Regions from separate parts of the Homo sapiens genome. Here region 1 is linked to region 2. Evidence: promoter capture Hi-C in human tissues and cell types (Jung and others, 2019). All regions are on one chromosome and are shown on one strand. The core of a region is centred on a gene start or on the middle of the fragment in contact, and the rest is flanking DNA. Distances in the headings are between cores, read along the strand shown. Region 1 overlaps NUDCD3 (NudC domain containing 3). Region 2 holds the start of POLM (DNA polymerase mu).

Region 1 (2,700 bases), core at 23-2,522, 310 kb before region 2:
GGGGGCACCTGAAATGTCCATCAGTTGATGAAACAAAATGTGGTTTATCCATACAGTGGAATATTATTCAACCTTAAAAAGGAATGGAGTTCTGATTCATGCTACAACATAGATGAACATTGAGGAGGACATTATGCCAAGTGAAATAAGCCAGACAAAAACAAACAGATAACTGTATTATTCCATTTGTGTGAAATGTCCAGAACCGGCAAATCTGTAGAGGCAGAATCATTAGTAGTTGCCAGTGGCTTGGTGGGGTTGAGGGAACAATTTAGAGGAAGGGTTAGAGCAAATGGGGAGTGACTGATAATTGGCACAGGGCTTCTTTGTGAGGTAATGAAAGTGTTTTGAAACTAGATAAAGGTGATGGTTGTGCACCATTGTGGATATACTACATGCCATTGGTTCACTTTTGAATGGTAAGTTTTGTGTTAAGTGGATTTTGCCTCCATTAGAAATTGTTCAATATAAAGTCGGCTCACATCTCCTCATAAAATACCACACTGATGCACATGCGTGACGTCTGTGAGTGAGGATGGCCCCCTTGGAGAGCTGCACTGCCCAGCACAGTAGCTGCTAGCCACATGTGGCAGCTGAGTAAACACTTGACAGGTGGCTCACGTGACTGGAGAACTGAATTATTTTATTTTAATTAACTTAAATTTAAAACCTACTTGATTTAGTTACTGGAAAACCTTGAATATTTTTGAAACAACTTGGGCATGTGAATATACCCTTTCAATTGTAAATATTATGAAATCTGAACACAGATGAAGTATTTCTGATGAAAAAGTGCAGTGCTCATCTTAATTTTTGTTGGGTTCAAGTGTACTTCTGTGTCCAAAGTACACTTGTGGACACAGAAGATTTGGGGATGTTCCCCTCCTTCCTGTTGGGCAGGTGGCTCATTGTCTTCAGGTCCATCTCCCACTGTGCCCAGGAGCCCTCCACTCTGGGTGTGTGTTTGGACCTGGCCAGTGAAACCCTGTGTTGGGGTCTGTGGAGTGCCAAAAGGCCTGAGAGCACCAGCACCGTCCCCTGGATGGTATGTAGGCCGACCCCCTGCCCACATGGTGCTGATGGTGGGCTGTCAGCCCCAGTGTAGCTCTGCTTTGCCTCTTCATGCTGGGCAATCTGGAAAAGGCCCTTACTTCCAAGGGTTTGTCCTCATTTTTAAATACAAAAAATGGTATGTATGGTAAATGGTAATGGTATGTGTTTTACAGGACTTGTGAACGCTAATAAAATAAGTTACATGGATCACAGTAATAACTACTGGTGAAGATAAAAAATTCGTAAAGGATCTCTTCTTTCCAGAGATTTACAGTTCTGTGAGTTCCTCTGAAGTCTTCCCTGGAATAGAGAAAACAATGCATTTCCCTCTTGGAAGGTTTTCATTGCATCAGCTTGGTAAAGACGAGGTAGAGTTTGTAGTGTTGGGGTCTCTGAGGGTGAGTCAGGTCCCCGTCACACAAACTGTAAAGTCAACGACAAACCAGCTTAGCAGAGTATCTGGAAATGGAAGATTCATCCCAAATTTAAATTGCACACTGGCAGAGCAGCGTCATTTACTGGGTAGAGCTGGCGTGTAGGGGAGCCACCCACTCCCCCTGTTCACCACTCCCCCTATCTGCATTCGGAATGTCAGACAAGATTTCTGGGATGCTGGCTTCAGATCATGATTGCAGGTTTTTGTCTTGCTCTTCCCAGTTCTGGAAAATCTCCACTGTGTGCTCTCCCGCACCACATCGGTGCCCACCCTCTTCATTAGTAGAACACATTCTCGGACTTGATCCCTGGGCTCTGCAGAGTCTGGTGCTGAGTACCTTCTTTGGTGTGGGTAGGTTTTGGCAGCAGGAGCTTGGAGGTGGGAAGGTGGAAGGTGCAGTGTTAGGACACTGCTCTCTCAAGCCCGTGTATACTGGTGAGTCTCCAGTGCTCCCTCTTGGGGGGACGTGGTGTCCTGTGGACTCACTGTGACCTCTTGAGTGTCACAGTTACCCTGAGTGTGGCTTGGTAGGTTTTGCCCACCTGGTCAGTAAGTGTCCTGGTGGCTGCCACCTCCATGGATGAGAGCTGCTCTCACTTGCGGGCCCTTTGCTACCTTTTCTCCCTTTCTGTGAGCACCTAGTGGTTTAATCCCATCAGAGAGTCCCATCACACTTGGGCATGTGAATGTACCTCTTTCAATTGTAAATATTATGAAATCTAAACACAGATCAAGTATTTCTGTTGAAAAAGTGCAGTGCTCATCTAGGGCAAAGTAGACAAACCCACTCTGTTGCTTCTTGGCCACTCTGGTAAGAATTTTGAGCCCAGCCACTGACCACAGCAGATGCAGCCAGTTTTCTTGTTTTCTGTGTCTGTATGACCACTGATAACAGGGCATGGTGTGGCCAGGGCCCTCCTCTGTGTCCCTGGGACAGGCCAAGCAGCCAGGGTCACCTAGGTACATACAGCACCCCTCACGTTTGCTCTCATACTGCAGTTCCAGTTGTCTTTTAAGTTTTTATGGTAATGACATGAGTCTCACAGACCCCAACACTGAGGGCTGGATCTTAAATGCTGGGTGCTGCTTCCTTTGACCAAGGGATGTCTGTGCCATCCCCACAGAGGTGCCCAAGGAGGCCTCTTTTGGGGTTGTTTCTTGATGGTCGTTTCTCCTTCCCAAGCCATCAGAGAACTTTAGGGAATGGGGCT
Region 2 (2,700 bases), core at 201-2,700:
ACTAAAGATGTCAGAGAGGAGCCAAAGAAAAAGGATAGGTGCTCAAGGAGTCTGGGGCTCAAGACTGAGGACGATGGGGCAGTGATGAGGAGAGGCATGTGGAAGGGGGTTGCATCTGATCTGGTGTCCCATCAGTTAGGCTGAGCAGTGCCACACTACCGTAACAGAGGTTACAAATGGAGTATATCTAAATAAGATAGACAGAAGACTTGATATTATCAAGACATCAGATTTCCCCAGCTTGATCTATAGATTCAATGCAATCCCAATCTTGGGAAAGGAATTGCTGGATCAATGTGTATTATTTTGTTTTCATTTTGTTGGATGTGGTTGCCACATTGGCTTCCACAGTCCTTCCTATGGATTGCCAATTACCTCGCACCTTCAACATGTGTGGTCAATTTTTTTGAATGTTTGATAAACCCACAACTGAAGATATTCTCATTTAGGTATTCTGTAACGACTGGACAGGTTGGGCACTCTGGTCATAAATTTATTGACCAGGATTTCTTCTAAGAATCATCTACGTGAGTTTTTTTGCTAATTTTTCTATTAAATTATTGTCTTTTTATCTATGGACAATTTGATAAGATTATCATGAGATAATCTTAATTCCAAAATATCTCACACTTTATCCCAGTTTATCTTCTGACTCTAATTTTTAATCAGATTTAAAATTTGTCTGTAGTCCAGTTTATCATTCTTTTCCTTTAGTGTTTCCAAGTTTATTGTGATATTTAGATCATAAAAACATTCACCGACTTTTTTCCAGTACGTTGTTGGTTTCCTTTTTAGATGGAAATGTTTGACCCATCTGGAATTTATTTTGGTGTTAAGGAATGAGGAAGGGCACCAACTTCTATTTTTCCAAATGGCCTGCCAGTTGTCCTAATGCCATTCGACTGAAAAATCTTCCCGCGTGTTTGAAGCGACCGCCCCACCAGCGCATTGGAAACCCGCGTGTCGGTCCTGCGCCCGCCGGCTTCCGTGTGACAGTCCCGAGCGCAGAGGGATCGGGCACAGCCCGCACGCGTCCGCCCCGAGCCGCCGGCTCAACCCTAGACCCAGCCCCGGCGCCAAGGACACAGCCCACCCCGCTCCGCCCGGGCCTAGGTCCCAGTTCACCCTCCCTAGCCGGGGACGCCCCCTTGACCCCGCCTCCTCCACCCCCTCCAACACCCTCCCCGCCCCGCTCCAGCCCAGCCTCTCCTCCCGGAGGCCAATGGGGCCGAACAGCGCTTTCCGAGACATTAATTTAAATAAAAGGCGGGTCCTCTGCCGTTATTTGCATGGAGGCGGGTCTTCCGGAGCGGCCGGGACACCCAATCCTGTAGGAGCCCGGACCCTCCCCAGCGCTCCGACTGGCCCAAGTAGCGAGCCCCACGGAGAGGCCTCATTTGCATAGGGCGGGGCCACGTCCTCTTCCAGCCGGCGGCCGCCCGCCCGCCCACCCGCTTCCGTCAGCCTCACTGGGGCTTCCTTCCGTCTCGCTCGGAGTTTCCCTCTGCGTTCGCTCCGCGCTGCTGGAGGCTGTCGTCCCAATGCTCCCCAAACGGCGGCGAGCGCGGGTCGGGTCCCCTAGCGGCGATGCCGCTTCCTCCACGCCGCCCTCGACGCGCTTCCCGGGAGTCGCCATCTACCTGGTCGAGCCTCGCATGGGTCGCAGCCGCCGGGCCTTCCTCACAGGCCTGGCGCGCTCCAAAGGCTTCCGCGTCCTTGACGCCTGCAGGTGCGGGGCGGCGCGGCGCGGCGAGGGCTTCCATGGCACTTCTGGTTTTGGATTCTAAGTTTGCAGTGGCACTTCGTGGTCTTGTGACCTTTCCCTGAGCCTCCATCTCCTCTTCTGTAAAGGGTGCTATTAATTAGGGCGAGGCGTGTTTTAAAGGATCACTGCGAGAATCAAAACCAGAGGTCAGGGGTAATTAATAAGCAGTAGGCCGGGCGCGGTGGCTCACGCCTGTAATCCCAGCACTTTGGGAGGCCGAGGCGGGCAGATCACGAGGTCAGGAGATCGAGACCATCCTGGCTAACACGGTGAAACCCCGTCTCTACTAAAAATACAAAAAATTAACCGGAGGTGGTGGCGGGCACCTGTAGTCCCAGCTACTCGGGAGGCTGAGGCAGGAGAATGGCATGAACCTGGGAGGCGGAGCTTGCAGTGAGCCGAGATCGCGCCACTGCACTCCAGCCTGGGCGACAGAGTGAGACTCTGTCTCAAAAAAAAAAAAAAAAAAAGTCGTATTTGCTAACAGCCCTTCTGCCTGGGCTATGTCCCACCTGTGAGCGAGACTGACTTCTCAAGAGGCCCGGAGCCCGCAGGCTCCTCTGTCCTCAGGCCTGAGTAAATAACACGACTGAGAAGCTCTTGTAGGAAGGGAACCAAGAGAAGAAAAAATGGCGGCTACAGAGACAACACCCAGAGTAAGGGAGCTGGGGGTGCCCCCTAGTTTGGAGGTTGAGAGAGCAAACGAACCTGGGGCTAGTATTCCCCCACAGTTGTGTTTGATTTTTTAACATTACCAGGGATCAGTAGTGCGCCAGACCCACTCAGGAGAGGATGATAGCAGCTTAGAGTGTACAAGGCACTATCTTTGTACAACAACCCCACAGGGTGGATATGTTATCTCTGCTTTACAGAAGAGGAAATCAAAGTATAGACACGTGGCTTGCCCAAGAGCCAAACAAGTATGTGGCAGGCAG

Evidence for each region. Contacts are between HindIII fragments. The study calls those that stand out against the background at their distance.
Region 1: a contact is called between a fragment that was not itself captured here and the fragment with the promoter of POLM in region 2, in 1 of the 25 tissues and cell types used here (adrenal gland).

Annotation. Positions count from the first base shown.
Region 1 is chr7:44,393,144-44,395,843 of GRCh38, reverse strand. All of the region lies in intron 4 of NUDCD3 (NudC domain containing 3), which reads left to right. Among named protein-coding and RNA genes, the nearest start is that of CAMK2B, 69 kb to the right of the region's middle. The HindIII fragment of the contact is 5,065 bases long and covers 1-2,700 here.
Region 2 is chr7:44,081,280-44,083,979 of GRCh38, reverse strand. POLM (DNA polymerase mu) reads left to right here and starts at 1,450. Exons shown (of 11, transcript NM_013284.4): 1 at 1,450-1,729. The coding sequence starts at 1,542. RefSeq lists a silencer at 885-1,464 and an enhancer at 1,176-1,676. The HindIII fragment of the contact is 16,372 bases long and covers 1-2,700 here.